Regions from separate parts of the Homo sapiens genome. Here regions 2 and 3 are each linked to region 1. Evidence: promoter capture Hi-C in human tissues and cell types (Jung and others, 2019). All regions are on one chromosome and are shown on one strand. The core of a region is centred on a gene start or on the middle of the fragment in contact, and the rest is flanking DNA. Distances in the headings are between cores, read along the strand shown.

Region 1 (2,949 bases), core at 240-2,739:
CAGATTGGAGGGAGATGATCAATTCAGTTTGGGACACACTGAGTTTGAAGGGCTTGTGGAACATTCTGGTGCACATGGCTAGGAGGCAGTTGAATATGCTACCCAAGCATTCAGGGATCAGAGGTTTTAAAGATAATTTTGTGGGTAGGGGCTTGGCAAGCGAGGAGTGTTGATTGATTAAGTCGAAGATGGAATACTGAGGGGGTCGAAGTGAGGTTTTCTTGCTGTCTTCTGTTCCTGGGTGGGATCACAGAACTGTTTGAGCCACATTACTGGTCTGGGTGGTGTCAGCTGATCCATCGAGCGCAGGGTCTGCAAAATATCTCAAGCGCTGATCTTAGGTTTTACAATAGTGATGTTATCCCCAGGAGCAATTTGGGAAGGTTCAGACTCTTGCAGCCAGAGGCTGCTGTGTGACCCCTAAACCATAATTTCTAATGTTGTAGCTAATTTGTTAGTCCTACAAAGGCAGACTGGTCCCAAGGCAGGAAGGGAGCCTTTTTGGGAAAGGGCTATTGTCAATTTTGTTTCAGAGTAAAACTATAAACTAAATTCCTTCCCAAGGTTCGTTCAGCCTATGCCTAGGAATGAACAAAGACAGCTTAAAGGCTAGAAAGGCAAGATGGAGTGGGTTAGGTCTGATCTCTTTCACTGTCATAATTTCCTCAGTTATAATTTTGGCAAAGACAGCTTCAATGCTAGTAAATGTGGCAGTGGGGTTTCACCCCAAGTACTCATCACAATAATAAAGGTTTAAACTACGAAGTACCCAACTGACCCTTTGATCTACCAATCAAATAATAGAATCCGCCAGTTCTTCCCCTTTCCCCTTTTCCTTCTCCGTACTTTCGGATTAATTTTCCCTCCCAAGGGGAAGAAAAGGCAGGCTCTGGGCAACTGTGTCTGAAATTAGGTGGTACAAATGTCTCCTAGTGACTAGAGCTAGGTGACCATACAAGGGTGTGGCACAGAGGAAGGAGCCCCTGGGTTCCTTCTCCAGGGAGATTACCTCCATCCTTTACCAAGTTACTTAACCTCTCTGAACTTTAGTTCAGATGGGATGACGAATATTATCACCTAAAAGTACTGTAATGAGAATCAAGTGAGATATTAATTGTACAGCCCTACAAAAATGCTAGTTATTATCAGGCTTTTCAGATCCCAATAAAGTAGTGGCTAAGTGTCACGACACCAACAAGTTGCATTTGTTATTTCAAGTGACTAAAAGAACCTCCCAAGGCAGTACTGCTTTTCGAAGTTTGTTTCCCTAGAAAAAGAACTTCAATGTGTCCCCTGCTCCTCGGGCACGCTTAAGACAACTATAAGTGAAGTCCCGCCTCCCTGGCCTCTAAACCACGCCCCTGTCCTTGCAAACGCCTGACTTATAAGGGCCTTTCACTCTGATTGATACTTTTATCCACCAATAATAAGTGAAATTCTCGTCAACGTCCGGTGAGGGGGCAGGACTTCCTTGCTGGTTGCTAAGACACTCTTGTTTCGCTCCTTGACAACCCTGGCGGGGGTTCGCTGGCTGCGGCCCCGGCTCCGGCCCCCGCAGGAGCAGGTGAGGCCCCGGGGCGCGGCGGGCAGCCAGGCGGGGAGGGCCGGCCCGGAGGGAGGGCGGGAGGCAACGCAGGGCGGAAGAGGCCTCGCCCGCCGCCGAGGCCCCACCTCGGTCTCCTGCCTGCTGTTCCCCTGCCCCAGGTCTTCCCATCCTCAACCCCCACCCTCACCCCCACTTCGGGACCTGCGAGCTCTGTCGTGACAGGTTTGCCATCGCGACTCTGCCGGCTGCTCTTCCCCACCCACCCAAGGCCTGCCCAGCTTCGTGGTCCCGCGTCCCCCTTTAGCCGACTTCCCCCAGCACCTTGATCCCTCGACCTTTCGCGGAGTAATTCCCTCTCCCGCGGGGTCGCCATCAACTAGGTCAGACCGCTCTTGGCTTGGAGAGTTGGCGACTTACTGGGATTCTGGGCTGGTCATTTCCCCTGTTTGGGCCTCAGTTTCCCCATCTGTAAATGAGAAGTTGAGTTGAGTGATCTCTAAGGCCTCTTCCACTCTGACGTTCTAGGATGTCGTTGTTCTTTGACCCAACTTTAGGCTTCCGAGAGGATGTGCTCCCCAATGGGAGGTATCGTGTATTGTGAAAATAACTTGGCAAACCTAATTTGGATTCCCAGTCTCAAGACCTACCCTCCCTGCGCTTTTAATCAGTGCATATGTAAAATCAGTATACGTCGGTGCATCTCCTTTGGTAATTCTGAGGCTAATATGAAGTACAGAGTCCAGTCCAGTATAGATTCAGTATTTGTTAGTTTCTTTCCTTTGTCTCTTCACCACATTTTCCCTCTCTGGGAAATGTTATCAACCCGGTCAGCATGAACTGTCATTTCTCCAGTTGACCCTCTCTGATCTTCCTCCTGGGCTTCCATGGTTAGGGTTACTTAGGGGTGGGGAGGGGACAGATGGAGATTGAAATACAGTCATGTACCATATAACAACGTTTTGGTCAAGAAAGACCACAGATACCACGGTGGTGCCCTAAGGTTATAATGGAGCTGACAAATTTCTATCACCTAGTTACATAGCTATCGTAATGTCAAAGCAAAATGCATGACTCACGTGTGTGGTGATGCTGGTGTAAGCAAACCTACAGTGCTGCCAGTCATATAAAATATAGCACATACAATTGTGTACAGGACATCATACTTGATAATGGTAATAAATGACTGTTACTTGTTTATGTGTTTACTATCCTACACTTTTATTGTTATTTTACAGTGTACACTCCTCCTACTTATAAGAAAATAAAATTTAACCGTAAACAGTCTTAGATAGGTCCTTCAGGAGGTATTCAAGCAAAAGGCTTTGTTATCATAGGAGATGACAGCTCCATGCGTGTTATTGCCCTGAAGACCGTCCAGCGGGACAAGATGTGGTAGTGGAAGA
Region 2 (2,949 bases), core at 270-2,769, 350 kb after region 1:
TCTGCCCTGTGAGTGTGAAGGTACCACTCAGCCTGGGAGACAAATGGGATGGGGTCCGCAATTAGGGGCTCCTTGGGGCCATACAGGGGAGGTGGTGGGCACAGGCTGGAGAGGCCCTGGCTGGGGGTGAAATGGAGCAGGCAGAGGGGCTTTGGGCATCCTTCAAACCTCGTGCCCATGGATACCCTTCTGCAGTTATCCTGAGAAATGGGCCTCAAGTCCCTCCTCACTGTTCCTCACGGGGAGCTCCCCATCTCCGGGGAAGCCCACTCGTGTCTGGAAGGTTCTGCTAATTGATCCCTGACTCCCTCTTTCCTTCGCCCTGCCCTCTGGGGCAGAGAAACCCAGCCTGCTCTCAGCAAGACAGGAGGAGTGGCCCACCTCCCCCTCCCCTACCCCAAGGCTCCTCCAGCCTCAGTTGTCCCAGGCGAGGCCCGTGACTGGGAAACAGAAGATCTGGGTTCATGTCCAGCTCCACCCCTTAGCAGCTGCGGAATCTGGGGCAGGTTTTTCACCTCTCTGAGCCTTTACCCCCTGCCCCGTAAGGGTGGGCGTTTGCCTCTGTTTCTTTTTTTTTTTTTTTTGAGATGGAGTCTCGCTCTGTTGCCCAAGCTGGAGAGCAGTGGCGCGATCTCAGCTTACTGCAACCTCCGCCTCCCAGTTCAAGCAATTCTCTGGCCTCAGCCTCCCAAGTAGCTAGGACTACAGGTGCGCACCACCATGCTCGGTTAATTTTTGTATTTTTAGTAGAGATGGGGTTTCACTATGTTGGCCAGGCTGGTCTCGAACTCCTGACCCTCATGTGATCCATCCACCTCAGCCTCCCAAAGTGGTGGGATTATAGGTATGAGCCACCGTGCCTGGCCCTTTGCATCTGTTTCTGAGGGTGACTGGGAAGATCCTGTGAGCCTGTGAGTGAATGAATGTATCATAGCTCGTTGATATGAACTACTTTGTGACCCAACCACTCAAGGGCACTGCTGGGCCTGATTTCCAGACCCCCATCACCAGCCACTGCCTTGGGGTACCACTTCTCTGGACAGCTGAGCCTCCCCCGGCCCTCCCTCACCCAGGCCCCCAGAACTGCTTTGGTGGGCAAGGCTGGCTGAGTGCCAGCCCCGCCATGAGGCTTCAGATCCTGAGCCCACCTGACCTTGGAAAGGGCCTCTCTCTGGCTGGGCTCCAAGGCTGCCCCCAACAGACACCCGGCAGTGGCTGGGCAGCAGAGAGAGAGAACTGGGTGGGGCAGAGAGAGGACCACTTGCCAGAGCTGTCCCGGCTCCCTGAGACAACAGGCTAGAGGACAGAGGAGAATGGCCAGCCAGCCACGGGCGGGGCCCCACTTAGCAGCTACATCAGCAGCCCGGCAGAGCTTACTCCTCACAGTCAAGTGGGCTGCCTGAGAAGTGGGTGAGCGCCCTGTCCTGGGAGATGTGTAAGCAACTGCTGAATGGCATCTGTTATCAGGGCAGGAGGGGGCTCTATTAAAAGACCCGGGGAAAAAATTGGAACCAGACCCCAAAGAGTCCCTGTTATTTGGGCTGCAGAGTGGCGGTCCTGTGAGCTGGGGGGTCTAACAGACTTTTCCCAGTATTCCCCCATAACATCCAACAATTCCCCACATGGTTGTGTGTCACAAAGCCCGGAGTCCAAGCACCGCCCGTCACAGCTTCAAGACACACGCCGGATCCCATTTCACCGCTCCTAACCCCCACTCAGGCCAGTGCTTTAAAATTGCACACAGGTCCTGCCCCGTTAGTGGGTTGGGAAATTGACTTAGTGAGTTGCACTACTTGTTTTCCGAAAATGAAATTAAAAAGAAAATTTCAAAATACTATGCATGTAGTGAGGGTAAATATTATTTTGTGACGCTCTTACTTCAGCTTTAAATATATAGCCGGGTGCAGTGGCTCACGCCTGTAATCCCAGCACGTTGGGAGGCCGAGGCGGGAGGATGGCAAGAACCCAGGAGGTTGCAATTGAGCTGTGATCGCATCACTGCACTCCAGCCTGGGCATTGGAGCAAGACTCTGTCTCTAAAAAATAAATATAAAGTAAGTTAAAATAACAAACAGGATGTTTGCTTTTACTACGGATTTTGGTCAAAAAACTTGAAAGCTACTGTCCTGTGTAGAAATCCAGGAGGCGCCCTGATAGAGGTTCTGATGCTCAGGTTCCGATTTCCCTGGATGTTTGGTTCCTAAAGACATAGGTGCCACAACTTCCAGGATGCTGCTGTCCTGCCCTCAGAAGTAGCCGCCTGTCCCTTGCTCAGTGGACCACCCAGGTCCAGGCACCCATGCTCCTCCAGAGCCACCACCTCTCCCCAGGGCCTAGATCCCAGGCCGGGCCAAATTCCCTGCTTTCCGCTCAGCCCAGGCCCAGCCCTGCTCTGTCCTTGTGCCCTCCTGCTTGCCCTCATCTTCCTAGGACCTTCTCTTTATGCCCTTTCACACACACACACGCACACACACGCATGCACGCACACATGCGTGCACGGAGCTCAGCAAAGCCGGTTTGTGACTTACCTGCTTCCCTTCAGCATACAGTAGGTGCTCAATAAATGTTCACTCAATTATTTACAGACCGCCCTCCAAGGCAAGGCACTGCGCTGTGTTGAGACACATCTGGCACCTGGCAGGAAGGCAGATGCTGTTCCAGCTCAGGGGACATTTAGGGTGATGAATGAATGGATGGATGGATGGGGGTCGGCTGGAGTTGGAGATTCTCTGGCCTGAGGAGCCAGTGGGAAGGTGGTCAGCAGTAAAGAGGGGCATGCAGCCCGTGGCCCCCCCCATGGCAGGCGTTCTGTCAGTGACAGTCCCTTGGGGCTGTGGCCCAGCATTGAGTCATGGGCAGGGGCTGACTGTTCCTCCTGCTGTCTCTGGTCCTTCTGAGGCCTGTCTCCCATGCCCTCTCCCACTAGGTCCTGTACACATGTCCCTGCCA
Region 3 (2,949 bases), core at 161-2,660, 340 kb before region 1:
GGCCCCAGACGTCCTGCAGGCGGCTGGCGAGTGGGAGCCTGCTGCGCAGCCCCCTGAAGAGGAGGGTAAGGCGGCCCCAGCCCAGAGACCCTCAGAGCTGGAAAGGGCCCTATGGGTCATAAGGTCCAGCTGGTTCAATGTCCAAAGAGGGCCTGTAGTGCTTTGTGGGGCCAGTCGGGTCTGGGCTCAGGGCCCAACACTAGCCCAGGGCTCCTCCTGTCGTCCCGCTCTGGCTGAGCTCTTGTCTAGGTGGGGAGGATGCACCCAGTGCCCTCCTCCCAAGTGTCCAGCCCTGTGTGAGGCCCTGAGCTGACTGAAGACACAGAGAGGAGGAGCTGGAGTTGGGGTCGGGTTGGGTGGTCTGCATGGCTTCCCACCTTGTCAACGCTGCCCCCATCTGTGTGTCTGACGCTGCAGCAGATGCCGACCTGGCCGAGGGGCCCCCTCCCTGGACACCTGCGCTCCCCTCAAGTGAGGTGACCGTGACCGACATCACCGCCAACTCCATCACCGTCACCTTCCGCGAGGCCCAGGCAGCTGAGGGCTTCTTCCGAGACCGCAGTGGGAAGTTCTGAATCACCGTTTTTACTCTTCTTAAACTGTTTTCTTTTGGGCTTGGGGTGGGACTTCCAGAGATAGGGATGGGTTGGGGGCGGGGTAATTATTTTATTTAAAAAAATACCGAGCAGCAAAAGGGGAGAAGATCCCACTACTCTCCCACCACCTGCCCTTTCTCTGAGGGACGTTTACCACGAGGCCTCAGGCTGGGGATGGAGAGAGTTGCTCTGGGAGTTGGGGTACCACCCCCAGGGCAGGATGGGGACAGGATCACCTGCCCGGGACACCACCATTATCATTCTCCTCTAGTGACGCAGCAGCTGGTTCTGGGAGTTAAAGGAGCATTGGAAGGCCCAAACCCTCTCCCTTGAGTGGCCACCCCAGCCTGGTTGGCTGGTTTTCCCCTTTTCTCTTGTTTCAATTGGGTCTTTACCTTGAACTCTCCTCTCTGGCTTTGCGGTGGGCTGTGGAGGCTGGTTTTGACCAAAAGTGAGTGGGGCGGGAGGAAGGGGCAGGAGGAAGGGTTGAGGTTACTTGGGGCGAGTCCCTTCCCCTTCAGAGAGGCTTCTATCCTTCCCAGGGAGGAGGCGCCGCTGAGACCCTTCTGCTGAGAGCTCTGCCCTCCCCTCATCACCTGGCCTGTGCAGAAACGCTCATGCACACCTGGCTGCACAGGTGTGCACGCATTACCCTTCGCGTGTACGTTCCCATGTGCCCCGTGAAAGCATGTGTGGCTGCAGACGTGTCCACATGGGCCTTGCGAACCTGGGTTAGAAACCCTGGCCAGGCGAACGTGGGGTGATTCACAGCACAAAAGACCTCACCACCACACCTGCACTCACCCCACCTTGCATGCACCTTGCTACCTGCTTGCGGCTTTCAGTGGAGGGCAGGGGTCTGGCACAGGTGCGATGGCACCCCATGCTCCAGGCATACAGATGTGGTTTCTCGGCTGCACCGGGCCAGGCTGCGGGTGTGCAGGCGTCTGCTAAGTTGTGTGATGTATCAGCACAGGCTTTGAGACGTCTGGACCCTGTCCTTCCTCCCGTGAGGGGTTCTTGTTCTTTCTGACTCAGGTGACTTTTCAGCCCTTCCAATTCCCCTCTTTTTCTGCCCTCCCCTCCAACTCAGCCAACCCAGGTGTGGGCAGTCAGGGAGGGAGGGAGTGTCCCACCACGTTCTCAGGGCAGCCCTTGACTCCTAAGCCCCTTCCTCCTTCCATTCTGCATCCCCTCCCCATCCAACCTAAATGCCACAGCTGGGGCTGAGCTGTATTCCTGTGGAGGGACCTCTGCCGTGCCTCTCTGAGGTCAGGCTGTGCTGTGTGATGGGCAGGCTTTGCCCCAGCCCACCCCTGGCAAGGTGCACTTGTTTTCTGGTTTGTACAAGGTGTCCTGGGGGCCCGTGGCTTCCCTGCCAGTGAGGAGTGACTTCTCCCTCTCTTCCAGTCCTGTAGGGGAGACAAAACCAGATTGGGGGGCCCAAGGGGAGCATGGAAAAGGCCGGCTCCCCTGTCTTTCCTTGGCTGTCAGAGTCAGGGTAACACACACCAAGAGTGGAGTGCGGCCAGCAAGTTTGAGACCTGCCCGCCCTCCTCGCAGCTCTGCTCTGTGTCCTCAGGAAGTCACAGAGTCTACTGAGGCAAGGAGAGGGTGATTCTTTCCCCAAATCCCTTCTTCCCTGGTTCCCAAACCAAAGACAGCCTGCAGCCCTTTCTGCATGGGGTGCTCTGTTGACAGGCTTCCCAGATCCCTGAGTCTCTCTTTCCTTCCTCCTCGATCTTTAGTTGTCCACGGTCAATTCAGTGCTTCCATTGGGGGACAGTCCCCTCCGGGATGACCTGATTCACCTCCAGCCCAGGGAATGGAATCTAGAGGAATACGTGGGGTGGGTCTGGACAAGGAGCGGCAGGAATCACCACCCATCTCCAGCTGTGGAGCCCTGTGGAGGGGAAGGGGAAGCTTGGGGTTCAGAGGGGACTCTTCCAGGAGAGGGGTGCCCAGCGGAGGTAAAGATGATAGAGGGTTGTGGGGGGTCTCTAGTTGAATGTTTTGGCCCATGACTTTGGAACATGGCTGGCAGCTTCCAGCAGAAGTCACGCTCCCCATCCCCCAGGGGACATAGGACCTTTTTCCTGCTTCCTGGTCACTTTCAAAGAACTATTTGCGCAATCTGTGGGTCTGTGGATTCACGGGGCTTTCTGTGTGGGTGCTGCAGTTGCTTTTGTCTGCAGCAGCAGGACACATCTTTCCTCTTACTCAGCCCTTTATGGCCCATGGGGAACTCCGTGGCTCAGGGAGAGCTGAACTCCAGGGGTGTGACCTGGGACGGGTGGGCCTGAGGTGCCCAGCTCAGGGCAGCCAGGTGGCTCATGGGCTGTAGTGAGCCAGC

What was found. Contacts are between HindIII fragments. The study calls those that stand out against the background at their distance.
Region 2: a fragment that was not itself captured here is called in contact with the fragment with the promoter of DNAL4 in region 1 in 1 of the 25 tissues and cell types used here (spleen).
Region 3: a fragment that was not itself captured here is called in contact with the fragment with the promoter of DNAL4 in region 1 in 3 of the 25 tissues and cell types used here (dorsolateral prefrontal cortex, heart left ventricle and pancreas).

Annotation. Positions count from the first base shown.
Region 1 is chr22:38,792,683-38,795,631 of GRCh38, reverse strand. DNAL4 (dynein axonemal light chain 4) reads left to right here and starts at 1,489. Exons shown (of 4, transcript NM_005740.3): 1 at 1,489-1,564. RefSeq lists a silencer at 1,298-1,747. The HindIII fragment of the contact is 13,707 bases long and covers 1-2,949 here.
Region 2 is chr22:38,444,590-38,447,538 of GRCh38, reverse strand. The region is part of intron 1 of KCNJ4 (potassium inwardly rectifying channel subfamily J member 4); the gene reads left to right. Among named protein-coding and RNA genes, the nearest start is that of KCNJ4, 9.1 kb to the left of the region's middle. The HindIII fragment of the contact is 6,980 bases long and covers 1-2,949 here.
Region 3 is chr22:39,131,517-39,134,465 of GRCh38, reverse strand. It overlaps CBX7 (chromobox 7), which reads left to right. Exons shown (of 6, transcript NM_175709.5): 5 at 1-65; 6 at 418-2,949. The coding sequence ends at 575. Among named protein-coding and RNA genes, the nearest start is that of CBX7, 20 kb to the left of the region's middle. RefSeq lists enhancers at 1-154, 155-839, 2,479-2,949. The HindIII fragment of the contact is 4,160 bases long and covers 1-2,949 here.